Regions from separate parts of the Homo sapiens genome. Here region 1 is linked to region 2. The links are contacts of gene promoters, found by promoter capture Hi-C in blood cells and fetal thymus (Javierre and others, 2016). All regions are on one chromosome and are shown on one strand. Each heading gives the region's core, a stretch centred on a gene start or on the middle of the fragment in contact. The rest is flanking DNA. Distances are from core to core; before and after follow the strand shown. Region 1 has its middle 6.5 kb from the start of KCNA3. Region 2 holds the start of CD53 (CD53 molecule).

Region 1 (5,458 bases), core at 2,858-5,357, 200 kb before region 2:
GATTAAGAAGGAGAGGCCAGAGAGGTAGAAAGAAAATCCACAGTGTGGTATCTTGGAAGTCAAATGAAGACAGTCTTCTTAGGAAGAGGTAGCTGACCATACCAAATGCTTCTGATAGGTCAAATTGAAATGAGAACTGAGAAATGACCACTGGGTATCGTTATATGAGGTTACCAGTGACCTTGCCAAGTACACTTTTGGTGGAATGATAGCGGGGTGAGAGCCTTTTGGAGCAGACTCAGGAGAGAGTGGGAAGGGATTCAGTGGTGAACAAAGGGAGAGATAGTCCCCACTCTCATGGAAGAAACAGAAATTAATCATATAACACAAATAAATATAAAATTACAGCTATGTCAAGATAACATACTATATTTAATGCATTCTAAGACCTACATTTTTAGATTTGAGCATCTATGAAATTGGGATGCACCTTAAAATCACTGGTACTTTATCCTTACAATTGGAAATCTTGTAAAAAATAGCACATAAGTAATAGTATTTCTTATAATCAAGGGCATCTTAAATTTAATGAACTACTATACTATAATAGGGGAATTGAAAAAACCAGAGTCATGAGAGATGCCTTGGAGGAGTATTGAAGTAAAAATAGAAGTCAAGAGGTGAGGAGAGAAAGAGGAGGCTGGCAGTGAAATATTTGCAAAGATCCCCATTAGCTTAAGGTGGAAAGGGAGCTTATCCTGTAACTGGAAGAAGACCAGGGTGACTGGAGCACAAAAGAAGGAAGGGAGAAATATAAGCAAAGAGGAGGTAAGGCTAGATATGAGATCATGTGGGGCCATAAAAGCTATGCTAAGCCTTTGAGCCTCTATCCTAAAAACAAGAAGACCCTGAAAGAATTTTAAGTAGGGGTGGGTTATATAATCGGATTTTGGTCTCAAAAAGATCATTCTGGCTACCAGGAAGAGAAAGGGTCAGACTGGCCACAAGAAATGTGAGGATGCCATTAAGAGACCTTCACACTTAATGTAGGATAGAGATGACAGTGTGGATTACAGTGGTCCTGGCAGTGCCACAGTAAAGTGGGCTGTTTTTAGAGATATTTGGGAGGCTAAATGACAAAATTTGGTGATAGGTTGAGTATATTTACTATTTCAGTGAATGTTATTTCATTAATAAATACATTGAGAACACTAGGCAATAAACCTGCATTTTAAGTAAGGCTGGAAAAAAAGAAAAATGATTTGTAAATATTTATGCTGCACATACAGAATGAAAACCAATATTTTGGAAATTCACTAATTTTCAGAAAAAAATGACACCATTTAGAAATATAGACAGAAAGTAAATGTACTGCAGGATAGGAAGTAATCTATGAACAGGTGAGGGGTGTGTGTGTGTGTGTAATAAATTGTCCCCACTGCTTCTCTTCCAAATTAATTATGTTTTAATGTAAAGAACATGTTTAAATGTATAAAAATAAGAACCTTAGGATTCAGAGGGACTTCTATAATGAACAGAAGTTTAAAATAAATGTAATGGAAGACAAATGAAATAACAGTGCTGTCTGATATAAAACATGTAGGCATGATGCTAACTTTCATTCTAAAAAGTGGGTAGGGGCCTCCATAGAGATTCCCAAGAGCCTTTGTGCTATGATATTAGGAGTGGGTGTGAGGTTGGAAGCTCACTGTAAGAGAAAAAGCTTCTCCCCAATCACTATCACCATACTGGAAGGTATGACCCCTGTATCTGCAAAGTCAGAGTCTTGCATGAACAAATTTATTCATAACATTCTTTAGATAGGATGAAATATCATTTTTTTCTCCATTTAAGTGTTATATTGCTAGCAACCAGAATTCCAGGCTTTACTTTACAGGGCAGAGTTCCTATTTCACTCTATTTAGGTTACAACAATAACAACATGGATCCCAAGAAAATGATGGAGGCTCTTTCCCAGATCTCTTCTTAATATGCATTTGATGGCTAATGGTGCAAATTTTAAAACAGAAGAAAACACACATCTGGTACAAAAGAACCCAGTAAAATCATGAAAACGTTTCTTTTTAAAATGTATTTTCTTCACAATTTTGAAAATTAGCTCACGACATCATTAAAAATCAAGACAAACATCTGAAAGTTTTCTAACCAGTCTGAATCATTTAAATTATACTTGCAAACTGAATATGAGTACATAAAGAATACTATTATCATATGCTATATAGCAATGGCCATTTTCTGGCAGAAAGCTAAGAGCTGAGTCACAATAGTAAGGTCTGGGCTCTGATTGGCTTCTACTCCCTTTTTCCTGCCTCCTTTGATGTACTTTCTCTCAAAGGTTATCAACCACTTCCTAAAGGTATATAAAAACAAGTGATTTCATTAATATATATAGAATTGCCCCCAAACCCATACGGAATAGTACAAAAACCAATAATTGTATCCTCCTTAGTTTAAAAGGCCTAAAACAAAACACAAAGAAAAAGCTCCCACTGTAAAAATGCAGCCCTAAATATCCTCTTCCACATTCTTATGCTCCTCACCTCTATCTCACAGTGTTTCCATAAGTCTTCAGATTATGGGGCACGTGTGCTTCTTTGCATTTCTTAGTGGGAAGGGTTATCACTTCTATTCACAGCTGAGAGGTGGGAAGGACTTGGAACTGCTGTAGAAAATGTTGAAATTTTAAATGTATAGAAGTCAATAAGTTATAGTTATGGTACTCAAAGGAACAGACTACTAGTATATATTATATACATTGTCTTTATATACTATAGCAAAACAAATACTTGAGTATATTATACGCCAAAAAGGTAAATAACAAGTTTTATGCCAACAAACCATAACTTTAAATGTCTTCATACTGTGCATTTAAATTTCAATACTGAAATTTTATTTCAAAGTTTAGAAATAACTGACATAATGCTTCCTCCTATGCGTAGGTGTCTGTGGTTATGTCACCACAGTTGGTGTATCATGTCATTTTAAAACATCATAAAAGAAATAAAACAATAACAATGTTAACTTCCATGTTTCTATCTGGATTCATCAGCTGTAAGGCATATACATTTTTCCCCAGGGTGTTGATGGGTGTGCACTGATCCAGTCACACCTCCTCACATGAATCTCTTGCTATACACAGACATCCGTATATTTCTTCAACACATAAGACGTGCAACTGAGCTCAACAGTGAAGGTTGTAGTTTGGCAAAGCCAGCTGGCATGTGCAAACGTAGGCTCATTAGAATTTTGCTCTAAGCCCAAATCATTATCCATTTTCATTTCATAAATGATTTAAGAACTGAGAGAAGGGTCTGCAGCTATTATGTAGGAAAAATTTTATTTTAATTTCTTTAGAGCACAGATGCCCTTAAAGATCCATGGAGTGGTTAGGTAAGGCAATAATGTCACAAGTTTCAGTGAACTGGCAATCTCATTCTGCTTTTAATACTTCTGTTCTGAATAATTTCTTCCCTCTTAATAAGGGAGAGTCAAAATATTTACATGACTTTCTGGTATGGTTCTTCAGTAAATGAAGCAAAGCATAAGGAGATAGAAAACTAATTTGCATAATGCTATCATCTATTGTTGATTAAAACACATGAAAACAGAAAAATCTTGAAACTGAAAAATATCCATTGTCATAGCAGTTATCACTAAACACTACTATGACTGGTTATACTTTCTAAGATTAAATCTAGATAAACCAACTATAAGAAAATAATCTTTTGTTATTAGAAAAGTCAATCTCTTCATCTTATTTAAATAACTTATATTTGATGCTTATATTTGGTTAAAATACCTGCTTATTTTAAGCAGGTTAATTTTCAGTATACTGAAATGAAATAGGTTTCTGGAGATATGTTATCTACATGAACTCATTAATTAGTGACATAGGCTGAAGCCAAGTCTAAAAGCATAAGAGATTTGTCTTTCAAGTCACCTAATAAAAGTAGCATGGGTTTCAGAGCCAGAATAACCTGGCTTTAAATCATAACTGAGTCTCCTGCTAGCTGTGAAGTCTTAGGGAAATCACTTAACTTTAAGCATCTATTTTATGCCCTCCTAAAATGAGGTTAATAGCACTTACCTTGCGGAGTTGACAAGTGTCCAGGACATGGTTGACTCTTAATAAATGGTAATTATTATTCTTATAATAGAAAGGAAATAGGAAGACACTGATTACTTGTGTATTTCATATTCACAAAACATTGTATTAATTATACAGTGCTTGTGAGTGATGATCACAATATAATCTCTTAGCAAAATCTCTGATGCCGTGTCATGGAATTATTTTTTCTAAGTGTTCTACCTGTATTAACATTTACTATTCACAATAAACCTGTGAGGTACTGTTTATCACCCTCATTTTACAAACAAAGAAACTGAGGCACAGAGAGGTTAAGTAATTTGTTCAAGATCATATACCAGAGTCAGGACTCAAATCCTGGAAATATGACTGCAGAGCTTATGCTTTTAACCACTTTATTAAAAGCCTGGAAATAACATTTATGTAAGATAACAGCCATTCACTCAACAAATATAAAAGGTGCCACATTCTGTGCTAGGCACTAGTACCTAAAACCTTCAAGACACAGAGCTTATATCCTTTAGGGAACTTACAATGTGGTGACTACAAGCAATCATATTACCTCAAAGTTATGAGTCAAAAGCCAGGATATTTCTCTGGATTAAAGAACAAAGGCCCCCTTTAAATTACTGCCATTTAATAACCATAAGAATTATGGCACAACCATAATTTACTTATAGAACTAATCAAGGTTTCTACATCTCCTGAATAAATGTGAATAAAATTGTCATTGCACTTCCTCCATCTCTATGTTAAGAACAGATACAAAAATTATTTTAATGTAATTGTTACAATGTATCTAACATATTATCAAAATGTGTCATAAAAATAATTTCTGGTCATTAAGGGTACCAAACGTTTGGTCAAGAGGTAGATCAATGTCAAAGGTTAACTCAAACAAAAAGCAAAGAAAACTAGATAATGAAGTCCTACTTAGATATACATAGATAAAAACAAATATATGATAAAAAACAAACAACAAATCTATGACCAGGTATATTTAGATTTCTTGCCTCTATTTGTTTGGTCTTTTCCTTCCTCAGCTCTCTCTTATAGTCTCAATCACTATTTTCCTCTCTCTTCAATGCATGCATTATAAATGTACTCCTAACTGAAAATACTTCATGGGCTTTAAAAATAGGGTTACTCTCATTTACTCTGGAAGGATAGAATAGTTATATGCTATTAAAACCAAAAAACAACTGTAGATAATGTATAATTTATATAATGTATATGAAACAGAATGATTATGTTTAAATAAAATGTTACTCTTATTTTTAACCCTTTTTTGTTTCAAAGAACTGTACCACTGCATACTATTAAATAATTATGTAAATTAAAATTGGACCAATAATCTAACAGCAGTAGATTCTGCCATTTATCCTTTTTAAAGGGAAACAGGTTGCTTGG
Region 2 (4,924 bases), core at 20-2,519:
GAAATCTATATATTATTTCCCCTGCTTAGAGAATATTAAGGACTGACAAGTTCTGCAGTAAAGACCTTTTTACCTTCATTTAATTCAGTTTTCCCCACAAGACAGCCCTGGCTGGAGATTACTCTGGATCTGAATGTCTCAGGGTGAAGGAAGCGGGAGACAGCTAGCTTTCCCAGAGGCATGCCCGCAAGTCAGCACCGCAGAGTGCATCTATCTGTTCATTTATAAGATGAAAACATTGGGGCCCAGTGATTGCTTCCAAGTTTCATAGTTAGCTAGTGATACATTTGGGTTGTCACATACTCCTTTGACCCAATCTAAGAAAATTCCAGTGATGCAGCATAGTGAAACCAGAAACACATTTTTCAAAATATATTGATCACAGTGTTTCTCAAAAGGCCTTCTCTGTGACCTTGAATTTTAATCCTACCTCTGACATGTCTTAGTTGTATGAGCTTGGGCAAATTTTCTAACCTCTTTGAGCGCCTGTTTTCTTGTATATAAATAAGGATGTAACAGTAACCAGTAGGATTATTATTAGGTGTTACCATTAATAAACTGAGGCTGACAGATTGAGACTTGCTCAAGATCTCACAGCTAAAAGAGATAAAGCTGGAACTGAAACTCAGATCTTTGGCTCCAAATGTGGTGTTTCCTGTACTAACCAAATCATTTCTACCAGTGCCCCTGGGATTATGCCTTGGGGACTCACCTTAAGACAGTCTTGCTCTCGAGACAGAGAAGTCTGCAAATGGTGTCCAATTCAAGTCTAGAGACTGGCTGAAGCCAGACAGAGGGAGTATGAGGAGGGGGCAGAGAATCTTCAGAAAGACATTCCAAAGTCTCGGGCCTAGAAAATGTTTAGAAATATTGGTTCCTGTGTTCCCCTCCAGTCTGTCTACCTGAATGGGAAACTGGTGGTGGGGCCAGGCATACTTCTTTTTGAACAAATACACAGTTAATTCTGAGATGCCACCTTGATTGAGAAGCACTGTCCTTTTCTAAGCAAAAATCATTGCCAAATTACCCTAGAATCCACCACTGCTCACAGATCTGTGCCTGAACCAACTTGGTTTTGAAGTTTTCTTTTGTTTCACAAAACTAGTTTAGGGTGGGCTGTGAGAGGAAGCTTCTAAAAAGCCACTGGGAAAGTACTAAATCTCTGAGACTAAAGAGGGCGGACTCAGCCTCACTTCCTCCTTCTTCTCATCTGGGCTTCCTGTCGTCACAGCATGATCATATTTTTTCACCCTTCACTTCTCCTTTTACACAAATAGCCCCGGATATCTGTGTTACCAGCCTTGTCTCGGCCACCTCAAGGATAATCACTAAATTCTGCCGAAAGGACTGAGGAACGGTGCCTGGAAAAGGTAAGGTTGATGACGTTTTAACTTGGCTTGCTGTCTAATGTGGGGTAGGGCGTATTCTTAGGGGTCTCCATATACCTCTCTAGTAACCATAAAATCTCCGGCAACTTCTCTTTCACAAATATTTAGTGCACAAAGTAAAACAGATTAGCAAGATCCTAGTAACATCCCCAAAGGCAATCAGGCCAGAAATACTTTTACTTAATCAGGTTCCCATTATCTAAATCTCTGAGTCGAGGCATTCACATGCCTTAATTGCTTCAGAGCTTGAATTACTCTGTGTAGTAATTCCTGATGCCTGGAGCTTTCTATGCGAGATGACATTGGGGAGATTTCCTATGTGCTCTGGTCTTCAGAAAATTGGTCTTGTGATTTTAAAGTGAGGAAAGAACCCACAGCCAGAGCTGTCTTTAGAAAGACAGCTAGAAGACACAGTTCTTTTTCATTTGAGAAAATTTCAAAAGTAAATTTAGTGACTCCCACTGTGGTTCTTCAAAGCCACTAAATAGAAAGGTGGCTAAAAATCAAAACACCAGGATGTGCTCAGTAACTGTATTTTAAAAGGTGAAAGCTAGACATCTCTAAAGGATGCATAGATTGTTGGCTTTTAAGGAGCAGGAAGCACATTGGGATCCTCAGCATTTCCCCAAATTATCCTTGGTGTACAAAACATGACCACTGATAAATGTCACATGAAATGCACGTATAAAATGCAATCCCCAAAACTTGATACTGCAGTAATTTCCAATCATGTGCTGTAACTAATGACTGAGGTTGCATGGACTCAGCAAAGTGTTAGCAGAGCTTCGGTCCTGACTCTCTGTGACCACCATCGGAAACTCTATGTAAGAGCTTTCTTCTTCCAAGACCTGTGAGAATTTCACTTGATTATGCCCTGGAGCAGAAAGGAGAAAGTTCTCTTTGATTACACCCACCCATCTAAGTATGAGGATTGGGAACAGGGCAGAGGGCTCTAGATTTCCAAGAGGGGTGGGGACGGGGAGAGGGCTCTGGATTCCCAAAACACCTCAGAGTTTATTGAGCCTTGTATTAAAAAATAAAAAGCAGTCTTTTAAATAAATTCACTTAATAATCAAGTGGTAGGTGCCTCCTGAGGCCAGGCACTGTGCTTTGGGAATTGTGGGGGAGGGAGATGAAAAGGTAGAAGGAGAATATTTGTCTAGCAAACAGTCCTACTCTTAAGGAACTCCCATGGGAGATAAGAGATATCATACTATGCGTGTGCTTTGGAAGAAAGCTGAGAAAAAGCAAACTCCCAGCTGCTGGACAAACAAAGAGGTTTTGCTTTCTCAATCTTGAGGAGAATCTGTACTATTTTGAAATTGTGGTTGAATGGGAGCAAAGACTGAACTGAAACATTATTTCCTGTGATGTTTCCTGTGTGGGCCAGTTAAGAACACTTAATTTTTAAATGAAAGGATTGGGTACCTTTATATTCATGAGGAATGATTCCAAGTTCATGCCTTCACAGCTATGGTTACCACCACCTAAGTGACCTCACCTTTGTTCACTGACAAGAGGCACAAACTGGAAAGGACAAAGTCTGTTGGTCCTTGGTTTTTTGTGCCCTCTGATTGACCTCTGACTGCACAGAGGCCCTCGGACTCTGGTTCTCCTTTCCCACTCCTACCCCATGGCCAGATATGGCACTTGGTGCTGGAGATACAGGATAACAGAAAAGATTATCATCTGAAAGGAGTTGTAGAGTTTATTATGGATGACAGTCACAGCAATATACAAATACAGTGCAATGTGCTCTTTTCTATAATAGATGGAGAACGTGCACAAACTGTAGGAGTTAGGAGTGTGCCAAAAACTGCCTAGAGAGGTGACTGGTGGGTTCACTTTCACAGAAGTATGGGTTTGCTATGGAGACATTCTAGACCAAGGGTGCTGTATATTCAAATTCAAAGAAGTGTGTACCTCCAGGCATGTTAGAAATGAGAGAAAGCAAGTGAGACTGCAGTGTAACACACCATGTTTACAGAGCCACATGAAGTGGAAAGCCCTTTCTCCTACTTGGCACCAGAAAGTGGAGGGCAAGATCGCTCACCAGGCAGGTCCTAGGTCCAGCTCTGGGTGGGGCTATGCCCACCATGTTCACACGACAGAATTGATGGGATGTGGGTTTGAAATGAGGGAGAAGAGGCAGGTTTTTGCCTCCTCAACCTAGATTTTCACTTAGAGCAGAAGGAAGGGTGGAGCTTCTTGTGAGGTTACAGCCATTGTTTTCAGCTTAGCTTCTGTTCCAGGAAGTACTGCATTGATTCAGTTATAGTGGTTTGTTCTGCGTCCCTAGATTAGTCAGCCTAGGGCACTTCTTGTACCAAGCAAGCATCCACTGTGTGTAGATCACCCTGGGCCCTAGAGACTGGGCACCTGTCCTCAGGAAGCTCCTAGGACCCATCTGCCACTGCAGGTGCAGGGCACTGAAGCAAAGTAACCCAGAGAAAACAGACAGCTATGCAGAGCAGGACTCCAGCATGGCTGCTGGGGCAGAGGAGGGAAGGATTGAGCTGGAGGTTGGGTGGTCAGTTTGAGAAGGCTGTCTGGAGGTAGGTTTTGGGAAAGAGAAAGACATGCATTTGCAAAGCCAGTGGATGACCACTCAGAGTAAAGGCCAGGAATCTCTATACTGAGAGTTAGAGGTGAGTGCTCTCTCTTCATTATCCATTTCATAAGCACACAGCAGAATTTCTACCCAAGCAATAGCATCAATATGTCATAGCTCTGACCAAGAATTATTGTAAAAGAAAATATGACACAAGCATACATTTTTATAATCATTTAAAATGAGAGTGCTATATTCCAAGAATTAGAATATTGGTACTTCAAGCGAAGTTAGAGATTATTTAGATTCAAATAAAGTATCTTAACTCACAATGAGAGCCAATAAATAGGAGCTGTCGCAACTGTCCAATCTGCTTACTTTTCAGGTAAAATGACTTGTCCAAAAATCATAAAATTACTTAATAGTTATTCAGAATGTCTTCTGATTCTCTATGGCATGCTCTTTCTTCTACATTATACTATAGTCCCTTTTCTAAGAGATTTTTTATTAAGTAAGCATCATTAGACTGTATTCTTCATTTACATAAATTCCTAGTGCATTTTAACATAAGCAAACATAAAAATACCACTTAATTGTAAATGTAATTGATCTTAAGCTACTATGCTAGCAAACTAAATACTTAACATATATTTTATTTTCCAAACCTTTTTGTTTGGCCTTTTCTATTTCAGGAGAACTAGATTGAGGAATAGGGGTAAGAAATGATTTTAATGCCTCATATCTTTTAAAACTTGTTAAAGTTTACTTGTTAAAGTAAATTTGAACTTATGGCTTACCTTATATCAGGAGCAAATAAAGGCATTCAAGAATTATTCCATAGTTTAGTCTTCTTAAAATAACTATTGTAGAATCTCAGTATTTATAACATAGAAGACAAATTGTAATGATTTTGAGATGAGAATCCCTTAGATCATTTATTTATTTCCCATCCCTTTAAAAAAATGACAAAATTCAGACTGATAAA

What was found. Contacts are between HindIII fragments. The CHiCAGO score rates a contact against its expected background, and 5 or more counts as called.
Region 1: a contact is called between a fragment that was not itself captured here and the fragment with the promoter of CD53 in region 2, in 2 of 17 cell types (total CD8 T cells and activated CD4 T cells). The highest score is 5.4, in total CD8 T cells.

The regions. Positions count from the first base shown.
Region 1 is chr1:110,665,722-110,671,179 of GRCh38, forward strand. It overlaps a transcript of KCNA3 not described here. Among named protein-coding and RNA genes, the nearest start is that of KCNA3, 6.5 kb to the right of the region's middle. The HindIII fragment of the contact is 4,893 bases long and covers 1,662-5,458 here.
Region 2 is chr1:110,871,879-110,876,802 of GRCh38, forward strand. It overlaps CD53 (CD53 molecule), which reads left to right and starts at 1,270. Exons shown (of 8, transcript NM_000560.4): 1 at 1,270-1,370. It also overlaps a transcript of LRIF1 not described here. RefSeq lists enhancers at 471-520, 1,121-1,230, 2,743-2,792. The HindIII fragment of the contact is 4,495 bases long and covers 1,128-4,924 here.